3 separate regions of the Homo sapiens genome follow, and all the other regions are linked to region 1. The links are contacts of gene promoters, found by promoter capture Hi-C in blood cells and fetal thymus (Javierre and others, 2016). All regions are on one chromosome and are shown on one strand. Each heading gives the region's core, a stretch centred on a gene start or on the middle of the fragment in contact. The rest is flanking DNA. Distances are from core to core; before and after follow the strand shown.

Evidence for each region. Contacts are between HindIII fragments. The CHiCAGO score rates a contact against its expected background, and 5 or more counts as called.
Region 2: a contact is called between a fragment that was not itself captured here and the fragment with the promoter of NTS in region 1, in 1 of 17 cell types (total B cells). The highest score is 7.2, in total B cells.
Region 3: a fragment that was not itself captured here is called in contact with the fragment with the promoter of NTS in region 1 in 1 of 17 cell types (naive B cells); the score reaches 7.7 in naive B cells.

What each region holds. Positions count from the first base shown.
Region 1 is chr12:85,871,720-85,875,646 of GRCh38, reverse strand. It overlaps NTS (neurotensin), which reads right to left and starts at 1,352. Exons shown (of 4, transcript NM_006183.5): 1 at 1,171-1,352. The coding sequence starts at 1,243. The HindIII fragment of the contact is 11,906 bases long and covers 1-2,965 here.
Region 2 is chr12:85,074,672-85,078,902 of GRCh38, reverse strand. The region is part of intron 11 of LRRIQ1 (leucine rich repeats and IQ motif containing 1); the gene reads right to left. Among named protein-coding and RNA genes, the nearest start is that of LRRIQ1, 40 kb to the right of the region's middle. The HindIII fragment of the contact is 5,447 bases long and covers 220-4,231 here.
Region 3 is chr12:84,879,544-84,883,421 of GRCh38, reverse strand. All of the region lies in intron 5 of SLC6A15 (solute carrier family 6 member 15), which reads left to right. Among named protein-coding and RNA genes, the nearest start is that of SLC6A15, 31 kb to the left of the region's middle. The HindIII fragment of the contact is 647 bases long and covers 1,637-2,283 here.

The DNA.
Region 1 (3,927 bases), core at 103-2,602:
TTTTCTTCCAGAAGTATGTGAATCTTTAATCTCATATAACTTTCAGATAAAATCATAATTATAGAAAAGTTTGTTTTTTCTCATAAGATTTAAAAAGTAGAAGCTGAAAGTTATGTTCTGATGATTAAAATAAATTTAAAATTTTGTATAAATCACATTTATATCTTCTTAGATTTTAATTTCATAATTTAAATCAAATGATAGCATGAGTTTGAGTTAAACATTTCCATGTCATATTTATGATACATAAAAGCACAGAACAGGTTAAATTATTTTTGCTGCATTTGCTTCCTAATGTGTTCTTTTCCCTTTGAAGTGTTCATTGTAATATTTCTTAAATATTAAGTAGAGCCTTTTGCAATGGTTGTAATATTTCATGTTATACCTTTCAATTTAAGTCTTATTTTCAAAGTGAGTTATTCGTAGATACTTAGGACTATATAACTTCTTTCAAACCACATGCAAAACACTCTAAAGTCAAATAATTTCCATCAATATAAGAATACCAATTTTCCAATTGTATTTTGTATTAACTTAAATGGCATGGAAAAAATGCCAAACAGTTATATTAATAGCACACTTATTAGACTATGCAAATTCTGTTCTCAAAAAGGATCTGGAATATTTTTGTATTTTTCTAGAAATAATTTTCTACAAATAATGCTTCATTTTTCACTAAGTATCAATTTTCACTTTATTTGTTATCTTAACACAAACAAGAAAATAATACGGGGACTATTACAAGGGCGTGAGGGCCACCGCTTCCTAAGAGAATGAATGAGGATGAGAGTAAAACATTTTGAATGGAATGGGATTTAATGATGGGTTTGCAGGTTGACAGCCACTGCCTCTGTATTTCTCATTAGATAATGATCAGCCTAATTGAAAGTTTTGTAGGGTTTTTTTCCCTCTAGTTGTTGAATTCCAAAGGAGGTCGTGCAGTGTTTCATTGAAATCCCTTTTATTGCTTTGCAGATTTTAAAAGAGAAAATACATCTCTCAGTAATCATAAAGGCAGAGAAAGAGATACTCAGTTTCTGTCACTAAAAGGTAAATCCTGAATAAAAGGGAGCAACTCTTCTCCCCAGATACATTAACATAAGTAGCAACACACTGCAAAAGAGAAAAAAGAAATCACTTCAGGGAGTTGTGAAATTCTGTTTTGCTTACCTGAGCACAGACTCCAGGAGCTGAAAGCCAGGAGTAGCATGCATACAAGCTGGATTTTCATTCCTGCCATCATCTTTCAGCCTTCTAACAAGCCAAGTCCGTAAAAGTCAGAAGCACACTGAAGGGGGCTCTCTCTAGCACTTCCTCTTTCCTTCAGCTGGCTTTGAAAGTGAGTGAACTATGAGAGGTGCTCTGGCCATTCCCCTATATATATAAGCAGGAGGATGATGTCATTGATTGTACAGACATTATCTTTGCAGGATGTGCCCTATCTTCACCTCCATCCCTCCCCTCTTTGCCCTGCTTTCTCCTCCCCTTTTCCTTTGTCCCCCCTGCTCTCCTCCCCCATTTCTGAACCTTGAGTGAAAGTGACGATCTTCCCTAATTGCTGCTGCTGCTGCTTTGGATTTCTGACGCACAGAAGGAGTCATTCAACTGCACTGACATACAGCATACATACAGCATACTGACAAAGAACCCCCAGTATCATCCTTTTCCCACTTCTCATTCCCCCACTCCAAAAGTTGTCATTTTGATTTTGTGAAACATGAGATCTGTTATTTCTAATTTTTAAGGAAAATCTCCAGGATGAATGCATGAAATCAGTGATTCCTTAGGCTTGGAAGTTCTTGAAGAGTTAGGGTGCTTCTCTGGTAATTCAAACTTCTGAGCAAATGTTTAGTGGTTCCAAAACTAATACAGGTTTTAAATAATCCATGCTGGAATAAGATGGAATAGAGACAGAGAATCAGTTATAAAAATTAAGCAATTAAGTTTAGAGAATAGAAAGAAAATCAATAAAAAGAAATAATAGATCCAGGGAATAAGATATTATTTCCTAACAAATAGAAAATATTTTATTGTAAGTAATGAGAGATGACTGAACTATGTGTGCTGACTTTTGGTTGAATGTATTAGAAAAACAATTTCATGTTTATAAAATCCAGCTCTAAATTACTTACATTCTAGCAGGTAAAAATTTGTGTTGTTGTATCACTGACTTTTTTTCTGTACATTATCTCTTTTTATGCCTATATTTTTCTGCTCTTTTTGAATTCATTCTTGATGCCATGTCTCACTCTTTGTATAATTCCCTTCTCAACAGTTTTTACTATTGCATCGGCTTTCTTTCCCTGTTATAATACTCTTTTCACCATAAAAAAAGAGATTGTACTTTTGGAAAGGAGACAATCCTAAATAACCACCATTCACCAAAGTCACTTTTCTATGATAGTCTTCATGTATTTCATGAGTTACACTGATACCCATTCTTTGTCTGAGTTCTCAAAAGAAAATTGTTCAAAATGCCTTTTAGAGTAAAACTTTCTTCTTGTAGTAAGCATTTCAAGATACATGGGGTAATTTGACAAGTCAGTGCTGTTAGAGATGTGAATATTTGAATGTAAAGTTGTCTGAGTCTTGTTTAATTTTTAAATAAATCAATCATGTAGTAACAGTTGAGAAAAAATAGGATTGGTTCCTATAGATAATTGATTTATATTATACAATCTATGAGTTTAACTTTTTCACCTTTACCCAAAACTTAAGCAAAGCGATTAAATCCAAACATTTAATAATTACTTAGAATAGCAAGGAGTCTTTCATATAATACCAGAAATTTAATAATAACTGATATATTTATTACTTTTAGTTTGTTTTCTGAACTTACATAAAACACAATATTGAACATACTCACATGGAGGAAGGTTTCTGTAAAGTATTTAGTTGACAAATGTGAAATACATACGTCTAGATGTTTTCTGCTTTCCTACCATTAGGGGGAGCAATGGAAGCTTGAAACACTTGGTTTTCACTTAACAGAGTCTCAGTGAGGATTTGTGCTTACTTTCCTGTTACTATCAGAGCATCTTTGTGACAGAATCCTCTTAAAGCCACTTTGATTAACAAATCGGGAAAATTATATATACTTTGCATGATAATTAAATTAGTTGTTTTCTCTGCTTTTGAATTGCAAATACAAAGAATGATCTTTTAAAATGTGTGATAGCAGTCTAATAGTAAAAAGGAAATGTGATTCTTATTTTCCTCAGATGATTTCTTCAATATGTTGACAAAATTGATCCCTAATTAATTAGAAAAAAGGGGGAGAAGAATTAATGGAAATTCATTTTAAATATATAACATGGATATTAGTTGTTAATGTGAAAATTGAGATATGTGATAAATATTCAAGAATAGGGGAAACATTAAGTTATGTCAAATAATTCAAATTCAAATAGATGCTATATGCTACTTTTCTTTTGGGGAAAAAAGATGTATAACTTTGGTAAAATTATGATGTAGATAAACTTTGACCTCTAATTGGTATTTTCTTTAATGTGTTAGGCTTTTTGTTTCTTGCTCTAATCTAATGCCTTCAAGCTACACATAAACCAATAAAACAATTTGTTGTAGGGATAAAGGTTAAGTATGTATTTTTCCACTTAAAAAGTACCCTACGAACTTCCTAAATGATGCCTTTAATGCAGGATTGTAGACACCTTGCTATGGAGATGGGTGAACTGTTTTTATTTTAAAGGCTTTTTACCCCAGATCCTTTTTCTTTTTTCTTTTTTTTTTTTTTTGAGATGGAGCTTCTCTCTGTCACCAGGCTGGAGTGCAGTGGTGTGATCTCGGCTCACTGCAGTCTCCACCTCCTGGGTTCAAGCAACTCTCCTGCCTCAGCCCCCCGAGTAGCTGGGACTACAGGCACACCACCAGGCCCAGCTAATTCTTGTATTTTTAGTAGAGACGGGG
Region 2 (4,231 bases), core at 1,694-4,193, 800 kb after region 1:
TTTTGTGAATCCAAAAGTTTTATTATTTGAAATTCTAAATGAATTAATAAAACGTAAAAAAATTTTTTTTCGACTACTTGGCAATATTGCTAGACATAACCCATACAAATAAGTTATTTGAGAGAGGTCCTCAATAATTTCTGAGAATGTAAAACAGTCCTGCATCTAAAATAAAGCTCGTTTAATTATATAAGACACAGAAGACTAAAGCAGAAAGCTTTACTACCTATGAAAAGAGACGTTTTAAAATGATGAAACTGGTCAATTTAACAGAAACATGTAACAGTTATAAATTTGCAGGCACCAAATAGCATGCCCTCAAAAACATTTAAAGTAAAAAAATATATAAGAATAAAAAGATTGAACTACAATAATCATGAAGTCATTGCTAATATTATCAGTACCACACTTAATCAACAGGCAGGTGGCATAACAAAAATATATAGGTTCTGAAGTAGGCTGTCCTGAGTTGTAAAAAACAAGCCTACTCCCAAACTAGCTATTTGAAGGTAGACAAGTGACTTAACTTCTCTGAGCTTTAGCTTTTTTATTTATAGAGTGAGGGTAACTTCACCTCATTATGAGGATTAAAAATAATATTATACAGGATTTTCACAAGATAGCTACTAAAAATGATAGCTATTATTATTTCCCAATAATTATTCTTAATAAAACAAGGAGTTTAAAACTATAAATTTGTGGTGACCAAATAAGGCTTCAGAGAGGGCTGAATTTTGAGTCAAACATTAAAGGAGAAACAATATTAATATACATTCCAAAAACTCTATTCACAACTGATTAAACAGTAATCGATTCCATAAATGCACTTGGATGGAAGGGGTGGGCGGGTTCTAGATGTAAATGAAGTTAGAGTAAGTTGCTACCCTTTGTCTTTAATCAATTTTTTTTTTTTTTGAGACAGGGTCTCGTTCTGGTGCCCAGGTTGGAGTGCATTGGTGTGATCTCGGCTTACTACAGCCTTGATCCCCCAAGCTCAAGTGATTCTCCCATCTCAGCCTCCCAAGTAGCTGGAGCTACAAGCATGCACCAGCCCACCTGGCTTATTTTTTGTTTATTTTATTTTTTTATTTTTAGTAGAAATGAGGTCTCACTATGTTGCCCAGGCTGGTCTCCAACTCGTGAGCTCAAGCCATCTGCCCAGCTTGGCCTCCCAAAGTGCTGTGAATACAGGTGTAAGCCACCATGTGCTGTGATTACAGGTGTAAGCCACCATGCCTGTCCTAATTTTACAAATTCTTTAATGTCAAATAAAGGCTGACAACTGAGTAAAATAAACTTATAGCAAGTCCTATCTTAGGATACCATTAATTCCTTAACACCTCTAAGAAAATTATTCTTTCCCAGATAAAATATCCAATATTTCTTCCCCTGCCCTATTCAAAATAAAACAAACAATAGCCACAAAAATATTAAAGAGCCTTTTCAAAGGACTTAAATATAATACAAATAAAGACTTGCTTAAATATTGTTTAGCTTACTGGTTAAATATATTCTTTTAACAGCTCTTTTAAAGTTTCCTAGATCTCACAAAATAAAACTTAAGTCAAGTGTGTTTACTCTTCAAAGGGCTCATGCCCATGGCAAAATTAACTTTTGGCCATACTTTCTACAAATATCTATTTCAAATAATTCTTCCCACAGAAATGAGCCAATGGTCTAATAAAACATTCCTGCCACAGGGGAGAAAATTCTGTAAGGAACAGCAAAATTAAAAATGTTAAATTAGGCTGGAGGTTTTTCACTGAAGATCAACCTCCTTCAGCTGTTCACTGATTGCCATGTCTGATGGTTTTTCATTCACACATACAAATATACAAAGTTGCACTTGAGACTTTTTAATTTTAGTGCAAAAGTACTTCAGGATTATACATGTTGTATAGAAAGAGTAATACTGAAACAGGAATCAGGAAACTTGGATCCCAGCCCTACCTCTGCCATGAGTTAGATGAAAACTATGTGGGTGTTTTTTCATCTGTAAACTAAGCAGCCTAGACTGGCGAGATACCTAAGATCCCTTTCAGCTTTACACTAAGCATTGTGTTGCCCTTCAAAACTAACAAGTAAGCTAGCACCATCTAGTGGACTCCAAAAAAAAAAAAAATCACTGAATAGGTAATAGTGAAAAAGATTCTTATAAGCAAAATGTCTAGAGTTCTTACTTTATTTTTCCTCCCAATGATTCAAAGACAATATTTGAAAGCAAGAATTATTCCAAGCACTATGAGCCACGACACAGCAATCAAGCCTATGTGAAAATGTTAAATTATTTCCATATCTTTCATATTTACAATACTAGTGGGCAATTTTCCAGAAAGCAGTATTATCTAGAAAATAAAGAAGGAAAAAAACTCTTAGTATCTCTACTATTTACATGATAATTTTTAGGAATATATGATGTGAAATTTATAAATTGGCAAATATATTGCTTAAATTAAAGAAATATTTTTTCAGATTAAAGTTTTCCTAAACAGAAACAGATACATCATGAACAAGAATATAAAAATGATCATTTACTCTTACATGTTAACATTATATTTATTTTTATTTTTATTCAATATTTAATAAAAGAAATAACTTATTCCAATTCCATATATATAGAGAAAATGTATATCACTATGATATTAAAGTCAAGAGAGTCGTTTGTTTTGTGTGGAAAAAGTCAAGATAATCATTTATTTTGTTTATTGCTACATCCCCAGAAATATTTCAGTGCTGAAAAAGCGCTTATACATATAGGTACTCAATAAATTTATTTTGAAAAAATGTCAAAATCATTACATTTGTTCAGCATAAAGAGTTTTAATGTAGTATAAAAATAGTAGTAATCTTAATTATGAAATGTATATTTATTTAAAAAGTAGAAGAATAGAAGAATAAGGTAATTTAAAAATTAGGCACTAGAGATAGACTGCTGAGTTTCAAATCCTGTCTCTATCATTTACTAGCTGTGTAATTTTAGATAATCTACTTTACTTCTTTGTGTCTCAGTTTTCTTATCTGGTGGGGTCAGAATTTTTTTTTTTGTTTTTGAGACAAGGTTTCTCTTTATCACCCAGCCTGGAGTGCAGTGGCATGATCACAGTTCACTGCAGTCTCATGAGTTCCTCTCAACTCAGCCTCCCGAGTAGCTGGGAATGCAGGAGCATGCCACCATACTCAGTGATACAGTTTGGATATTTGTCCCTGTCCAGATCTCATGTGGAATTCTAATCCTCAATGCTGGAGGTGGGGCCTGCTGGGAGGTGTTTGGATCATGATTGGGGTAGGGGGGATCCATCAGGGCTTGGTGCTGTCTTGGAGATAGAGTTCTCACAAGATCTGGTTATTTAAAAGTGTATGGCAATATCCCCACCACCACCACATTCTGTCTCCCTTGCTCCTGCTTTTGCTTGCAACTTGCCTGCGCCAGCTTCGCCTCCTGCCATGATTGTAAGTTTCCTGAGGCCTCTCTAGAAGCCAAGCAGATGTCAGTACCATGCTTCCTGTAAAGCCTGCAGAACCATGAGCCAATTAAACCTCTTTTCTTTTACCTAGTCTTGGGTATTTCTTTATAGGAAGGCATAAATGGCCTAATACACCTAGCTAATAAAAAAAAATTGTAGAGGCAGGGCCCCACTATGTTGCCCAGTTTGGTCTTGAACTCCTGGCCTTAAGTGATCCTCCCTCTTCAGCCTCCCAAAGTGCTAGGATTATAAGCGTGAGCCACTGTGCCCAGCCGAAAATATTTAATAGTACCTAACTCATGCCAGTGATGTGAAAAGCAAATGAGTTAATTTGTATAAAGCACTTAAATACCTATTGGTAAGAAAGCTATCTATTACTGTATAACACTTAATTGTATTTTTATGTAAATAAAATGTAAAAAATAACTTTTTTCAAATATGGATTTATTCAAAATTAATTTAGTTTCAAAATTTTCTGCTAGAAAGTCAATGAAATTCAACATAAAATAAGAGAAATAAAGACAACTAGATTTTAAGTTATAAATCCCATTTTTCATTTGCTTTGGCTATTCTTACTTTAAAAACTAACTGAAAAATACTGACTCAAAGGACTAAAGGTTTTCCATGAACCATTTTATAAACTTTAACAATCATGTGGCAACATTCATTCAATATATTTTTTGCCACATCTCATATAGAAAACACAGTTTTACCAATTTTGCCTTAAATTTACTTATGGGAAATTTCAAACAAAGGACAACATGAAA
Region 3 (3,878 bases), core at 711-3,210, 990 kb after region 1:
AAGACATTTTGAAATAATGTAATGTGAAGTGTTTCTTAAAGCTCTGAACATCATTAAGTAGTTAATAATAATTCCAACAAGGAATTCAGAGTAATGTAAAAGACTAAATATCATTCCTTCTAAGGCAAATTGAAAATTAGAATGGTTGTGGTTTAAAAAGACATTAAGTGAATTCTAGGTAGCTTGTTTGTTATTATTTTTAAAGGACGCTCTAGGAAAGTAATTGCTATTCACTATTTTGCTTTCGTATTACTTTTTTTTTTTTTTTTTCATTATCACAGCCATTGTTCTAAAGCTCTCCACATCTCTTGGCTGGATCATAGCAAGAATTTACTGTTGGCTCTTCTCTCTGCCGTTTAACTGTCCAGCTGTGCTATTTTCCTTTTCAAAGTATAACTGATTTCAGGCTAACTTATTACCACTCATCATCATATACTAGCAGGAATGGCAATAGTAGTAGTAGTAGCAGCAGCAATAGTAGAAGTAGTCATAATAACAATAATAATAAATGATGATAAAGATGTTTCTGACAAGAATTAGGGTAAGAACAGTAATTGAAGCCAATTATTTATTACAAATGTATTTTGCTTTGGGTACTGTGATAACTACTTTTTATACTTTATCCCATTTAATTATAAAAACCACTCTTGAGAAGTAATTTTTATTTTCAGAACCATTTTACAGATTTAAAATAAACAGGTTTGAGGAATTAGTTTAACTTATCCAAAGTTTCGTGGCTATTAAGTTCTAGTATTTGGAGTCAAATGCAAGTCTGTCTAAATCTAGAGCCCATGTTCTTTAACTGCAACACTATAATGTCTCACCCCGTCCTAGTCCCACCAATTAGTCAACTCTTTTAGGGCAGAAGTCTGTCTAATTCATCTTTGCTTCCTGTTACTTTATATTTAATTAAAAATTTTAGTGACTTTTTAACTTGTAAATTGTAGCTGATTTTACATTTATCTTCCTGAAGGAAACTCTGTATCATTTTGTCTTTTGAATTTGTGAATATACTTGTTAACACATCTAAATATCTTTAAGTCTTTGGCAATGTTATTGTATTATATGACTAAATAACTTCGAATTGTTCAATTGTGTATGTCTTCCACTATGTCAGAGCCACATTCCCGTCACATTATAAATGAAGGAGTGGATTCTTAAATAAGACCTAACCATATTTATATGATTCCTAACATAATATCATTTGGTAGAAAGAAAACCAACTGTGGTCATCCAGAGAAGCTCAAAAACTCTTGTACTCAGGTTCTCTTACTACCACGTTTTGTTTCTGTTTCTTCTTAGTCTGTGTCTTAGCATCACTTAAAGAACTATTCATCCTTTTCTTATCACAGAATCTTGGGGTTGTTCTTCTCATGTCATGTAGTGTAAATTTATATAGAAAATGTAATACAATTTATTTAGTACATACATTTATTATTTTAATGAGAATGCCTCAGGAAAAGACTAGTATTTGGGCAATATTTGAAGAAAGAATTTAACAGGCACTGATGGGGAGAAAGCTAGCTGTAGGTAATGTGAGCAAAGATGTGGAAGCCAAAATTGTCACAATTCCTCAATCTGAAACAATGAGTTAAATATAATAACAATGACTTTATGAGGAATTAAAGGTTAAGCTTTGTGTTTACCTACTAAACAGAAAATGCCTCCAAATAAACAGTGTCACAAGTACAGAAGAGAGAAATATTGTTTAAGGCTAGCACATGGAAAAACAACTTAGAGGATTTAGCAGCTAAAAGAAGAATGAGTCAGCTGGTGATGTGCTTGGTCAAAACACACAGTCATACATGCATATACATATACCCCAAAATGCTAAGTGGAAACTGCATGAATTAAAAGAGGGGTATGATAGGGACATTGTCCTTTGGGCTAGGTAGGCACATATCAGTTGGACCACATCTGCAATACTGGATTTTACTGAAATCTTGTATTTTCCTTTTTATTATGAGAAATTTCAGCTCAGTGATCAAAGTCTTCAAATAGTTAAACCAAAAGAAGAATAGGGCTGCTTTGTGTGGCCATAGAGAGCAAAACTATGATCAAATAGTGGGTATTATGGAGGAGGTTGTGATGGTGGTAAGCCTTCAAAGAAAGAAAGGCCTTTCAAGAATCAAACTTGATAATAATGAAATCAGTTGCCTCAATGGTAGAGAGCTCAGCATCACTGGAGGTGGTCACACAGAGGTAGCATGTGCCCTAGTTACAGAATCTATTAAGGGGATGACTGTCTCAAATATGTAGGACAGAAATGAGAAGCCCCAAGCTTGCTTTTAACTCTAAGGTAGTATTTTCTACTCTGACTACTTTCCTGTTGTTACTACTACTATGCTAAATACTATGCATACATTATCTTGTTTATTCTTTCTATCAGCTAGATAATTTGCATATTTTATCCCCATTTTACTGCAAAGTTGACAAGCTCAGGGAAAATAAATAGTTGGCCAGAATTAAGCAACCAATACATGATAGACAGGGCTAAAACTGGGCTACAGAATTTTCAAAAAGAATGATACATTCTGAAGGTATGTTTATAATAAACATTTTTCATATGTAAAACAATGGTTTTTGTTTTCGATTTTTTAAACACTTTAGTAAAATGAAAATGTTTTATACAATCTTTTGAAAGATAAAATAGTCTCTCTTACTAACGTACTTGCTTTGACAGGCATAATAGTTGTCAAGGCCCGGGGGAGGGGTCTTAAAAATCAGTCAAAGGAGCATGTTTCTTTGTATCATTTCCCAGTTTTAAAAATGTATACTTCTTGGACAATGTGTAATAATCATTCACCCATTCATTATTATTTTGAGCAAATATTTATTAAGCACTTACTATGTTCTAGACACTGATCTAGTTTTGGAAATACAACTAACAAGGTAAACAATGTGCCTGTCCTCATGGAGTTTCCATTTAGTGGCAGAGGCAGCAAACAATAAACAAATTTATAAAATAACTTCAAGTTATAAGACGTAACGCATGGAGAGAAGAAAGTGGTTGGTATAAATACAGTGAATAGGTTGAATTTAACTCATTTTAATAATATTATGCAAGTGGCTGTTTTGGTCTAATAAGATTAGAGCCATATGAGTGAATGCAAATAATTTGTGTTTATAAATGACACAGATATTTAAGTAACCTGCTGACTCCTAAGACACATCTTTTTAAATCATGGAATTTAAAAATGAAATATTTTGTCCTCTTACCTGCTCACAGAGGAATAAAATTGATGTGTTGCCTTCTTAATATCACTTAAATGTTTGAAATATTGACTTATTTTTCTCCATCTTGTAGGCTTGAAATGTTCTTGTAACTTATTAGGAAACTGTGTTAGAGTCTTACTGAATCCAGATCAGTGTCCTTAAGAATTTAAATGTTTGTTGAATTAATAAATGAAAATTGAAATGTCTGGACATATAATTAGAATATAATTTTCAAAATACTGCAGAATAACCATAAGCTTGCAATTTTAGGAATTGTGTGCAGGAAGAAAAACTCAAATTCCTGTAAATCCTCTCTCAATGAACAATATATTTGAATATCTGCTATTTGTCAGGCACTGATGGATATGCAAAGAGTAATAGGCCACAGTCTGTCCTCATGGAACCCACAATTCAATGAATGAATTGTGTACAAGAAGAAAAACTTAAATTCCTATAAGTTTTATCTTAATGTGCAATATGTTTTAGTATTATATTATTGTACAACCATATTGCAACATATTGTAATGATGATTAGAACATACTAAGTGGAGTAACAGAAGCACATACAAAGTGTGTGATAGTGGCCAGGCGGTGGCTCACGCCTGTAATCCCAGCACTTTTGGAGGCCGAGGCGGGTGGATTGCCTGAGCTCACAAGTTTGA